Linked DNA regions of Homo sapiens: all the other regions are linked to region 1. Evidence: promoter capture Hi-C in human tissues and cell types (Jung and others, 2019). All regions are on one chromosome and are shown on one strand. The core of a region is centred on a gene start or on the middle of the fragment in contact, and the rest is flanking DNA. Distances in the headings are between cores, read along the strand shown.

What was found. The method cuts DNA at HindIII sites, captures the fragments that hold promoters and counts their contacts. A contact is called where the count stands out against the background at its distance.
Region 2: a fragment that was not itself captured here is called in contact with the fragment with the promoter of DHRS7B in region 1 in 2 of the 25 tissues and cell types used here (dorsolateral prefrontal cortex and lymphoblastoid cells).
Region 3: a fragment that was not itself captured here is called in contact with the fragment with the promoter of DHRS7B in region 1 in 2 of the 25 tissues and cell types used here (IMR-90 fibroblasts and heart right ventricle).

Annotation. Positions count from the first base shown.
Region 1 is chr17:21,124,941-21,129,460 of GRCh38, forward strand. DHRS7B (dehydrogenase/reductase 7B) reads left to right here and starts at 2,024. Exons shown (of 7, transcript NM_015510.5): 1 at 2,024-2,051. The coding sequence starts at 2,032. RefSeq lists an enhancer at 1,686-2,345. The HindIII fragment of the contact is 17,830 bases long and covers 1-4,520 here.
Region 2 is chr17:21,054,499-21,058,818 of GRCh38, forward strand. No RefSeq gene overlaps it. Among named protein-coding and RNA genes, the nearest start is that of USP22, 14 kb to the left of the region's middle. The HindIII fragment of the contact is 4,660 bases long and covers 1-4,320 here.
Region 3 is chr17:21,011,979-21,016,211 of GRCh38, forward strand. USP22 (ubiquitin specific peptidase 22) reads right to left here. Exons shown (of 13, transcript NM_015276.2): 6 at 3,774-3,921; 7 at 852-957. Among named protein-coding and RNA genes, the nearest start is that of USP22, 29 kb to the right of the region's middle. The HindIII fragment of the contact is 7,119 bases long and covers 1-4,233 here.

The sequences.
Region 1 (4,520 bases), core at 774-3,273:
CCCGGCCCACTGGAATCCTTTTTGTATAATATCCTGGCTGCGAAGTTAGAGTTTTTACACTTGCATTTGGCAGATGCAATTCAAATTGGTTACCAAAACTTTGAAATATATTGAGTTGCTTCTAAAACAAATTCCATGCAGGATTGAAGAGTGGGTAGGCTAAGAGGGTAGCAGGCCTGGGAAATGAACCCCAGGAAACTGACTTAGTCATGCAATAAAGACTCAGGTGTTACCAGTGGAGAGTGTCCAGGTTCTTGGCGTTTTGAACAAACAATTGGACAAAACGCACAAACAAAGCAAGGAAAGAATGATGCAACAAAAGCAGAGATTTATTGAAAACAAAAGCACACTCCACAGGTTGGGAGCCTGCCTAGCAGGTGGCTCAAGAGCCCGGTTACAGAATTTTCTGGAGTTTAAATACCCTCTAGAGGGTTCCCGTTGGTTACTTGGTGTACACTCTATGTAAAAGAAGTAGTGGCCTGTGATCAGCCTGATTGGTTGCAAGAGGGGACCAATCAGAGGTACCTTCAATTTTTCATCTGCCAGGCAGAAAAGCGGGGCAGGTTGCAAAGGGACTAGCTTCTGTTCCTTTTGTTACCTGGGCATGGAAAGTTCGGGTTTTCCTTTTGATTTAGTTCTAGGAAGTCAGCGTGAATTGGCCTTAGGTTCCCTGTCTCCAGACCCTATTTTTCTGCCTTACGGTTCATATTGGGTTTGCTACAAGGATATTCAAACTTTGTGAATTGGCAAGCAGGAATCTAGAGTTTCCAGAACAATGGAGAGGGGCCAGAAAGGTATAAAAACTTTTGTGAAAACGTCAAAAATAAATATTTAGTTAAAAATAAAATTTCCCATTTTCAGATTTTGTGAATATCTGTAAGAATTTCCAGGATATATTAATTCGCTAAAGTTAATAAAAGCAAGAAACAGAAGGACGTTTCAGAATGCTATTGTTTGTGTAACAAGGGGGTGCTGAATACATACATAATTGCTTGGTTATGAATAAACTGGCTCTGGAAGGACACACATAGCTAATAGCATCGTTACCTAGGGGGAGGTGAAGTGGGTCCTGGAGAACAGAAAGGGAGATTTTCCACCTTACACACATTTGCCATCTTATGATTTTGAACGATAAGAGTCCCCCCGCCCCTTCCTTCCTCTGCCCTGCCCCTTCCTTCCTCTGCCCTTTACTCTCTCAATATCCTCTTTTCATGCTTTTTTTTTTTTTTTAAATCACTTCGGGTCCTTTAAAAAATTTACTTGCAAGAAGTACGTACATATTCTGAATAAAATTCATTTTCAGATATATGTATTACAAATATCTTGTCTGTTCTATTGTCTTTCCCTTTTCTCAATGGGGTCTTTTCGGTGTCTTATAGTTACAGACACCCAATTTATCAGCTTTTTCCTTTAGGACTGGCACTTTTTGTGTTCTGCTAACACGTTATTTTCCTCTCTTATGGTCATAATATTCTGCGATTTTATTGTCTAGAGTTGTATTGTTCACATTCAGGTCTACCATCCGTCTAGAATTATTTTACTTGAGATAGGAGTCAAGGTTCATTTCCCCCCAATCGACCTTCAATTGACCTAGCACTATATATTGAAAAAACTCTTCTTATTGCATTACAGTGGCTACTTGTAGGAGGAAAAAGTGACTACATAGCTGCAGGTCTGTTTCTGGTCTCTCTCTTTTTCATTCATTGTTTTTACCTTTGTGCCAGTTATCACACTGTTCTGATTACTGTGGCATTATAATCATCTTGATAACTGTATCGTGAATTCTCCAACTGTGTTCTTCGCCGGAAGTCCACGGAACACCAACCACGACCTTCGGAATTTCCCTCCGGAAGATGAAGGCACTGTAGTTATGCGGGTGGACCCTATCAGATCTCGGGTCCATCGGGTCCTGTGTACACCTTGAGGGACGCCCACCCAACGCGCATGCGCAGCCTCAATGCTGGGATTGGACGGAGCCTCGCCGGCTGCGTACACGTCACTTCCGAGGCGGGAGGATGAAGTTGATTGACTATGGTCTCTCCGGCTACCAGGTAGGGGCTGGGGAAGAAGGAACCTCCGAGATGAGGCGATAGGGTCTGGCCTTGAGCTGAGGCGACGCCCCGGCTTGGGTGAGGGGAAGCGGTGTAGTGGTCGAGCTAAGGCCGCGGGCCCTGGGCGGCTTCCGGATCCCCGCGACGCCGAACTCTGAAGGAAGACTCAGCCCAGGCGCTGGGACCAGAGCCCTGGCTCCGGCGAGTGCGTGGCGGGGAAACCCGCCTGTCGCCGAGGTGTCTTGAGTCCAGTTTCCGCTGCTGGGAATGGGTGTCGCGCCGGGCGCTGTGTGTGAAAGGCCTCGCGCCCACAGGGCTCCTGGCTTCAACCTGTTTATTCCCACATTTCTGCGCGACGTAGGGGAGGCTCCGCAGCGTCTGCGAGTGGCAGGACCGAGGGTTGAGCGCTGGGGGCCAGTGGCACCTTAGCCAGTGACGGCGAGTTAGGACTAGCAAAGGAAGTCCGGTTTTTCAGAAGGCAGGAGGAGGGTGCTGACTCGAGCGTCCACGGGAATGGCTGGTTGAGATATCTTGCTCTTCCAATACTTACTCTGCGGCTTCCTGGCTGTGCGGCTTTGGGCAAATGTTTTAAACTCTGAGTGTTTCTTCAGCTGTAACTTTGGGAGTAACAAGCCCACTCATAAGGTTGTTGTGAAGCGTAAATGAGACTGCGCGTGCAAGGTGCTCAGCTGGTGTCTGGCACATAGTAGGTATTCAACAAATGGTAGCCACATAATGCTCTTTTTTTCAGTTTCCAAACCTTCCATGTAGTGATTGGAGAATCGTGAAGTTACTTTTGAAGTAACGTTTGGGTTTCACACACTCATACATTTAGTAAGCAGAATTCTTGCTTACACTGTTGCCGATTGCAACGGTGTGTTTGCATAATGGAAGCTATGTTTGTGCCTTTGCCAAGGGTGTGGAATATGCCTTCCCTACCATGTACATGTCCCCTTTTCTCCATTCCTTAATAATAGTTGATATTTTTTGAGTGTTTGCTATGTTACAGGCACTGTACTAATCCCTTTACTGAATTATTCAATCCTGTAATAACCCTAATCATAGGAACTATAATTTTTATTTATGGAGGGAGAAATGGGCTTAGAGATGTTAAGAAGTTTATCCAAAGGCATAGAGCTATTAGCCAGGCAAGGTAGCACACGCCTGTAGTCCCAGCTATTTGTTGGGGCTGAGGCAAGTGGATTGCTTGAACCTGGGAGACAGGCTGCAGTGAGCCGAGATCACGCCATTGCATTCAAGTCTGGGTGACAAAGTGAGACCCTGTCTTGGCTGGGCGCAGTGGCTCACACATGTAATCCCAGCACTTTAGGAGGCTGAGGCGGGCGGATCACCTGAGGTCAGGAGTTCGAGACCAGCCTGGCCAACGTGGTGAAACCCCGTCTCTACTAAAAAATACAAAAATTGGCTGGGCGCGGTGGCTCACGCCTGTATTTCCAGCACTTTGGGAGGCCAAGGCGGGCGGATCACGAGGTCAGGACCTCGAGACCATCCTGGCTAACACGGTGAAACCCCGTCTCTACTAAAAAAATTCAAAAAAATTGGCTGGGCTTGGTGGCGGGCGTCTGTAGTCCCAGCTACTAGGGAGGCTGAGGCAGGAGAATGGCGTGCTCCGGATGGCGGAGCTTGCAGTGAGCCGAGATCCCGCCGCTGCACTCCAGCCTGGGCGACATAGTGAGACTCTGTCTCAAAACAAACAAACAAACAAAAATTAGCCGGGCGTGGTGGTGGGCGCCTGTAATCCCAGCTACTCGGGAGGCTTTGGCAGGAGAATCGCTTGAACCTGGGAGGCAGAGGTTGCAGTGAGCCGAGATGCCGCCACTGCATTCCAGCCTGGGCGACAAGAGCGAGGAGACTCCGTCTTAAAAAAAAAAAAAAAAAAAAAGTGACACCCTGTCTCAAACAACAACAACAACAACAACAAACAACAACAAAGGCATAGAGCTAGTAAAGGCCGATCCAATGCCATGTCACTCCAGAACCTAGCGCTTAGCTACAAATTTCATTCATTCCTTCAGATACTTATTGAACGTTTACAGTGTACCAGCATTGTGCTGGGTGTTGTGGATACAATGATGATCAAAACAGATAAAGCCCCTGTCTTTAAATTGCTTATAAATCTAGCAAGGGAGATAGTAAATATATAAATAAAACTAAATATTAATTACGATTGTGATGCATGCTGTGGAGGACAGTAGAGGGTGCTGTGAGGATACATAATGGAGTCACCGGCATGCGGAGGGGGAAATGAGGAGAGACAGGGAAGGCTTTCCCAAGAAAATAATATTTAGCTGAGACTTAAAGGACTGAGTTGGAGTTAAATTGGACAAAGAGCTAACAGGAGGAGGGAAGGGCATGTGTGAGGTCTTGAGACTAGGAGGAGCTTGTATCTTGTTACTTAAAGACCCCTGTGAGGCTGTAGGTGGTGGCTCACACCTATAATCCGAGCGC
Region 2 (4,320 bases), core at 839-3,338, 70 kb before region 1:
TTCTAGTCCAATTTCTTTTCACGTTACTAAGGGCCTGCCAGGCCAACCCTGGATCCCACAGCAACACATCCTTTCCCGTTGGAAATCCAGAGGACAGTGACTGCTTTCCACCACATAGGCCAGCTGTGAAAATCCCTGGACCCCCCTTCACCATACAGTGCAACCTCACCATATGGGGGTTCGTGCAGCTCATTATGAGAATCACCCACTCATGGACACCCCATACAACCTCACCAAGACTGCCATCACCATGGGAGAGCCTGGCTTGTCTATCAACACAGACACCACTTAAGATTGAGAGCCTTGAAGGGTAAACAGGGTACCCGGAGGCATCCAGACTGAAGGAGTGAGGGCCACACTGTGAAGGGAGGTGTGAGGATGACCCTAGGACCACAGCTTGAACTGGATCCCAAAATGCCCTGGGCACAGTGCCACCTACAGCTTCAGAACCATCTTTATCTTATCCTGTCCACCTGGGAGTCCTCCTTCCCCGTCTCACCGTGATGACCTGCAGGAGTGTCTCTTAGCCACAGTCCTCCTCTGTGATTGTCAACCTATAGAAAATGTAAACTATAGATTTTAGAGAACCTTGTTCTGTAAAATCACGGACTGTCAGAAACTTTGCTGTTTGAAACCATGTTAGTGAGACTGGAACATTCTTTGACACAAAGAAGCAGCCTCAATTTCCAGCTGAAACAGGATTTTTCTCTTCTTTCTTTCTTTTTTTTTTTTTTTTTTTTTTTTTAGAAAAGAGCTTTTTAACTTTGGGAGGCTGACGTGGGCGGATCACGAGGTCAGGAGATCAAGACCATTCCGGCTAACACGGTGAAACCCCTTCTCTACTAAAAATACAAAAAATTAGCCGGGTGTGGTGGCGGGCGCCTGTAGTCCCAGCTACTCAGGAGGCTGAGGCAGGAGAATGGTGGGAACCCAGGAGGCAGAGCTGGTAGTGAGCTGAGATGGCACCACTGCACTCCAGCCTGGGCAACAGAGCAAGACTCGGTCTCAAAAACAAACAAACAAACAAACAAACAAACAAAGGAGCTTTTTAAGCACAACATCCTACATTTATTTTAACTTTGTAGTTTCTAAGGGAACAGGACCCTGGGTCGGCTTCTGATGTTAACCCCTTTATAGCTTTACACACATAATCCTGCTTGCTTCACGCCTATCCACAACACTGATTCATTTATATTGTACCTAACCTCCACCCTCCTCCAGATCCTGTAAGAACCCTGCCTCTATGTGGCCAGGCGCAGTGGCTCATGCCTGTAATCCCAGCACTTTGGAAGGCTGAGGCGGGTGGATCATGAGGTCAGGAGATCGAGACCATCCTGGCTAACACGGTGAAACCCCTCTACTAAAATACAAAAAATTAGCCGGGAATGGTGGCGGGCGCCTGTAGTCCCAGCTACTCGGGAGGCTGAGGCAGAATGGCGTGAGCCCAGGAGGCGAAGCTTGCAGTGAGCAGAGATCGCACCACTGCACTCCAGCCTGGGAGACAGAGCTAGACTCCGTCTCAAAAAACAAACAAACAAACAAACAAACAAACCCTTCCTCTACCTTTGTTTGAAGAGGACACCAGGTTCCTCAGGTAAGTGATCACTCTTGCTGCAAGGATGCTAAGAAATCCATTGTTTTGGGACTACAGGTTTGTCCCTGTTAGGTTGTATTACCGTCCTGGAAATGGTACATTTATAGCCTAACAAATATACAGGAATGGATTTTTACATCCACAGAGTAGAGAACAAAGAGAAAAATTGCCCCTCTGTCATCACAGAACTTTACATCATGTTTTCTAAAAGTTTAAAACTCAAAAATGTGGCCGGGCACGGTGGCTCACACCTGTAATCCTAGCACTTTGGGAGACTGAGGCAGGTGGATTGCCTGAGCTCAGGAGGTCGAGACCAGCCTGGACAACACAGTGAAATCCCACCTCTACTAAAAATACAAAAAAATTAGCCAGGCATGGTGGCGTGTGCTTGTAATCCCAGCTACTTGGGAGGCTGAGGCAGGAGAATTGCTTGAACCCAGAGGGCAGAGGCTGTAGTGAGCCGAGATCGCGCCACTGCACTCCAGCCTGTGTGACAGAGTGAAATACCATCTCCAAAAAAAAAAAAAAAAACCTCAAAAATGTTCCCTAATGTGTTATTCCCGTGAATAACTCATGTGACTCCTGTAGAGACATTCAGTAACACCCTCCCCTTTGAACTTTTGAACTGATGCTGAAGGAGAGCCCCCTTATTATAAAAATGCACGTTTAGATCTCTTTTCAGATGTGCAGCCTTTTTTTTTTTTTTTTTTTGAGACGGAGTCTTGCTCTGTCGCCCAAGCTGGAGTGCAGTGGCGCGATCTTGGCTCACTGCAAGCTCCGCCTCCCGGGTTCACGCCAATCTCCTGCCTCAGCCTCCCGAGTAGCTGGGACTACAGGCACCCGCCACCACGCCTGGCTAATTTTTTGTATATTTAGTAGAGATGGGGTTTCACCGTGTTAGCCAGGATGGTCTCGATCTCCTGACCTCGTGATCCGCCCACCTCGGCCTCCCAAAGTGCTGGGATTACAGGCATGAGCCACCGTGCCCAGCCCAGATGTTCAGCCTTTAAAAAACTGTTCTATGGAATGTTAGAATGAATATCACACTGAAGCCTCAAATAAGCACCAGCCACCCAACTGAAAGGGTGACCAACTTATGGTCATCTTGTCAGAAATTGCATCCTCTCAGCTGAACCCACAGCTAGGGTTGCGGCAAGGATGTTCCCTTGTCTGGTACCCTTGTTCCCCTGTTCCCTTGTTCCCTGGTCTGGTACCCCAGACCAGCCCTGGATGGGATTCCAAAGAAAGAAGCACCAAACGCCAGGGTGACCAGTGCAAAGCATGCATTAGGGCGCTTACATACATAGGGCTGTCACAGGCCTCAGGTGGCCTTCAGGGAAATGGGTGCCCCCCGGAGAGGAGCCCTTGGAGAGGGGCGTGGGGAAGGTGTCAGTTGCTACATGTTTAGCAAGATGTTTGATCTTGAAGTGTTTTGGACAACAACATAAGCAAGTTTATCAGTGCCTGGGAATGTTCAGGGCCCCAGCTCAGGTTCCAGCCCACAGCGGAAGCATGCAGCCAGCCAGATCACAGAGTGGCCAAGGTGCTCTCTGTGTCTCAGAAAGAAAGTGGGAGAAACTGGGAGACCCTACACATATAAGCTTCTAACCAAACTCCCCAATTCTACTTTATTTTTGACTATTTTCTAACCTAAAGAGAAGTCATAAGAATTATGCAGTGAGCACCCATAGACACTTCATCTAGATTCTCTAGTTAGCGATACGTTTTTAATCCAGTTTTCTTACCACTTTACCTTATCTCTCCACGTATATTTTTAATTTAAATTTTGTGTTTGAGTTACTTACAGACACACTTTGAGTTACTTGCAGACAAGCTAGAAGAACTAGTTTCTTCTGCAAAACCATGGTGCAATGATCATATACTGGAAATTTAACTTCAATACAATACATTCCCCTATACGCATTGCCTCATATACAATGCATTTCATAATCCATATTCAGATTTCCCCCTAATTGTACCAAAGGGTCTCCTATAGCTGTTATTAGTTTCCATTCAAAATCCAACCAAGGCTCTCACATTGCATTTGGTTTCGTGTCAATTGTGACAGCCTTGTGAAATTTCTTTATTATTTGTTTATTTATTTTTGAGACAAGATCTCATTCTTTCACCAAAGCTGGAGTGCAGTGGCGCAATCACAGCTCACTGCAGCCTCTACCTCCTGGGCTCAAGTGATCCTCTTGCCTCAGCCTCCTGAGTAGCTTGAACCACAAACCACAGCCACCACACCTGGCTTTTTTTTGTTGTTTTTTGAGAGACGAGACCTTGCTGTGTTGCCCATGCTATTCAAACACCAGGACTCAAGTTGAGCCATTGTGCCTGGCCTGAAATTTCTTTGTGTGCACAGGGCCCTCTCTTCCCTGCAGATCCCAAAGTGATTTCTGGTAGATATCTTGCGTATATTCAGATGTAAAAGAAAGTTTGTCATTTTGATGTGTTAAAGAACTTGGGGGGTCAAACAGTCCCAGACTGCCCAGTGAGCATTCTCTTTCTTCCTTCTTGCAATGCAGCAACAAAGTCTTGTTTTAAAATTATATACCTCTGGCTGTCTTTTTCCCACAAGGGGAGCTGCAGACAGAAGCTGAAGGAGCTGTGAGTCATGCAGTCAGGATAGGGCTCTCCAGGCCCCCAGGGAGGGAGGCAAAAGTGAGGAGATGCATGTTCTCTGCAGTTGCCAAGAACCTGGTGGACCAGGGTACCGAGAGGCA
Region 3 (4,233 bases), core at 1,416-3,915, 110 kb before region 1:
ATGCTCCTTATAGAAAATGGCCCCCGTGACACAGGCAGCACTGGCCTTTCCCGATATTTGCTCGTCTTATGCAGTTTAGAAGTGACAGTCCATTTCGGGTTCTGAAATAATTTCGGTGGATCATGTCCAGGGTTTTTAAACTTCAACTGAAGTAAAGAACAGAGCCAGGCACGGTGGCCCATGCCTGTAGTCCCAGCTACTTGGGAGGCTAAGGAGGGAGGATCGCTTGAGCCCATGGGTTCAAGGCCAGCCTGGGCAACATACACAAGACCCCATGCCTGAAAAAAACAAAAACAAAAACAAAAAACCTGTAGCATGCACTGAGGTTGGGTGAGAGGGTCCCCTGACCTAACAAAGCAATGGATTCTCCCTGCACTCAACACTTGAGGCTCTAAGCAGAGACCACATCTGAGAAGAATTAGGGCCACTACATCAGAAAATGGAACCAGAAACCATAAAATAATGAAAACTAACACACTTCGAAGCACGTAGAAAAACAATCCACCATGCATGATCCACGCCTTCTTGAAGAGGGCTCTTTCACTTGGTCCCTGGTCAAGGACTGTAAGATGCAAAATGGTAGGGGAAGCTTCCAAGAACACACTGCTGGCTGTAGACAACAGCCAAGACCTCAACACGAAGGGCTCGCATCCCGAGGGGACACCTGCCCTACGACCTCCCCAAGAGGAAGCACCCCCACCCCACAACCTTCGCTCTCATGGCGTCTATTAATCATTTATCTCATAGCCTCCTTAAAGACCTCTCAGAGCACACACAGCTCTGGAGACTGGGAGGATGTCAGTACGGCCCCAGAGGGTTTGATATTGCCGAGCACGCAGCCTCTCACTTACTGGCAGACTTGGCAGGTGACGTCTGACTGCAACCCGCCTGTGAAGATCTGGTCTATGATGCAGTTGCAGTGGTTGGGGTTGTTGGCCTTCTTCCCATTGTCATCACCTGGAGACAGACCACGGCTCTGGGATTAGTGTCTCCCCAAATATGGGGAGTCTCTAAGGGAAGAGCAGTTCACCCTGCAGAAGCCTGGGGGAGCCAGGGCCAACGCTTTAAAAGGCCATGTGAGGACACTCCTCATTTTAGCAGAGGGTGTCCTTGTTATTTTAATATGACGAGAAATCACAGCACTTGGATTTTCAATGCTCCTTTTTCTCATTCCCTAACAAGAGCCCCACAGCTTCAGTCTTGCCAAGAAAACCCACCTAATGCCCAGTGACTGAGCAGAATAATCGATTCCCATTATCATATAAAGAATGACTGAATCAATATTGTTCCAGTGAGACAGCTGAACATATGGTGGGCCAGGTACACCCGGGGAAGCCCCAGCAACCTCCCTCCCTGAGTAGGTATCATGGTGCCCCAAGTTCAGAAAGTGACACCGCAGGACACAGGCTGTCCTCATCAGCTAGAGCCCCCAGGGGACAGCGTGTCTTCCAGTCAGTTGCATCTGGAAGTGCCACTCCCACCCTCTCTATTCAATACACACTTCATTCATATCCATGTGTGCAGATCTGTGAAAAAGAAACTTAAGTAGCAGAACTTAATTCGTGTGTGGAATACATATTCTACATAACTTCACTAGACAGTGGGGACAGGGCACGAGGACACCTGTATATACATCACAGTTCAAAGACGTTGAATCATGACAGAGGAATAGAGAAGGGCCACTAAGTCTTCTGAGAGCAGAAGGTTTAAGATTAGAGAGAAAAATGCTTCCCAGAGGGATCTCAAATTCATGGGACAAAATTCAGAGGACAAGAATATCCATACAGGAAGGCGCAAAGAATGATGAACAGAATGGCCAGGCGCGGTGGCTCACGCCTGTAATCCCAGCACTTTGGGAGGCCAAGGCGGGCGGATCACGAGGTTAGGAGACCGAGACCATCCTGGCTAACACGGTGAAACCCCGTCTCTACTAAAAATACAAAAAATTAGCTGGGCATGGTGGCGGGCGCCTGTAGTCCCAGCTACTCAGGAGGCTGAGGCAGAAGAATCACTTGAACCTGGGAGGCGGAGGTTGCAGTGAGCTGAGATCGCACCACTGCACTCCAGCCTGGCGACAGAGCGAGACTCTGACTCAAAAACAAAACAAAACAAAACAAAAGATGAACAGAAAGATGCCGTGAAGGCCACAAGGACAAAATGCACGTAACCAAGGCCATGTGGCCAGGCCACCTCGCTGAACAGCTCTGGCAACCAGGTTTCTAAACAGAAGAACCTTACATTTCTTTTCAGACATTTCCAAGGGAATTCTGTCAGAAGCACGTCAGAGGTCACATTTTGTCATGTGAACATTTAACAGCAATGCATTTTTGAACAAGTGATTTTTAGAACATCTTTCTGCTGCTTACAGAAGGCTCTTCGTTATTCTCACTAGGTGCTTGGGGTAACAGCATAGTCACTTCCACAGTGGCTCTTTCCTCTCTTATAAATCATACTAGGACATGAAATTCTACCTAAGCTACTAAGTAACTTTCCTTTGATTTCTAGGTAAGAATTAAAAGGATCACGTAGTTTTTCAGAGGAAAAAAAGTAAGTACCAAAAGAAAACAGAACCCAAAGTCACATTTGACCAAAACCAGCCATTTTAGCTCAACTGTGGGTTGTTTCTGGGCTGTGATCTCAGAACCCATAGGTTGTACGTAAGCGCCTAGGGCCCGGGTGCACAGCCTTGAGACGGATGAGAAGCGATGGGAAGGCCAGCCCACCAAGCTGTTCAACTCGGTGAACCGTCAGAACAGGACTCTGTTCTCTAAAAGACTCCAAGTTAAAATTAACTGATAGGATATCGGCTACAACTAGCTGTGCCAGCCCAGAGACCACAGGAAACTCACAAGCAGCCAGGTGCCCTGTGACCTGAGCGCATGGGTTCTCAGAGTATGGCATCTGAACCAGCGGCATCAACATCAGCTGGGAACTGATTAAGAGTGAAGAAGCCCCTGCCCCCCACAGATCTGCTGAATCAGAAACGCCAGCACGGGCTTTAGGAAGACCTGCAAGTGACCAGCCCACACTCATCTGAGAATCACCTCTCAGTCTCTCTGCCTGTATGGATAGACTTCAGCTGCAGGTCCCTCACACTGGGATCTCCACCATGAGGAGTGGGGAGGAGCCGATCTTGGCTCAAGTCATTCATTCCCAGCCTCCCACCTCCAGCGCTAAGAGCTGCCCCTGCCAACTACCAACACCACACAACTCTGAAAAATCATCAGGGTACCACCCTGGGGCCAGGCTGTGGGACTATGTTGGGGGAGATGGCCCAGGTCCAATGAGACCCCAAGAGAAGCTTTGCTCGTCCTGTGTCCCAGCTCTCTGGCTATTTCAGAGCAACCATCAGTCCTTTTGGAGAGTCCCCAATGGGAAGGAGACAGTTGGGTGATTAAGTTGTGTTTGGGGGATGTCCAGAAGCCTCAGGCCTGATAACCCACAGGGTCCCAGAAATGCCAGGGCAGGCAGGGGCCTCAAAGCACAGGCCCAAGAGGGCTCCAAGAGTTTGCTGTTCACTGTGATCGGTCACTGAGGACCTGTCATACTGCTGGAACTACTTCCTCGCCTCTTAAAAATAAACTAGGAGGAGCCTCTCTGAGGTCATTAGTTATGGTGACTTCAGAAACAAATGACGACAAGGGCTATGATGACAAAACAATGGAATGTGTCACCTGTGCCCCTTTTTGCACGAGTGCATACACTCGCTTTGCTTCCTTCCCCTTCAAGGAAAACATCCTGCCCTGGTGGAGGGTGCAGAGCCCAGGGCCCACCTTTGCAGTGTCGGTGGAGCACGTCCAGGGCCGCGATGAGGAACTCGTGGGCGTCCTGCTGCTCGTAGCCTGCTAGGTGCCTCGCGTGGGTCCACACCAGGTGCAGCAACTTATACGGGATGTGAGGGGACCGGTGTCCAGAGTAAAACTGCCAGAGGGCGGGGAAGGAAACCTTGTCAGGAATAAATGTAGACTCTGAACACAGAGTACACACAATCAAAACCTTTATCAGATGCCTACCATTGGCTGTGGCTCATTTGACACAAATGTTTGGATTTTACTTTTCTACTTTTTGCAAAGTCTATTTTTATCTGGGCTCACTGGACTTTTCGAGTCCTCATATGAATTTTTTCCTTTCTACCATCTAGTTTTCCACATATAAGCCTAAAAAATGAATTATGACTTGCTACTATGAGATCACATGCAAATAAAAGTGACTCGATTTGCCCAATACTAGTTT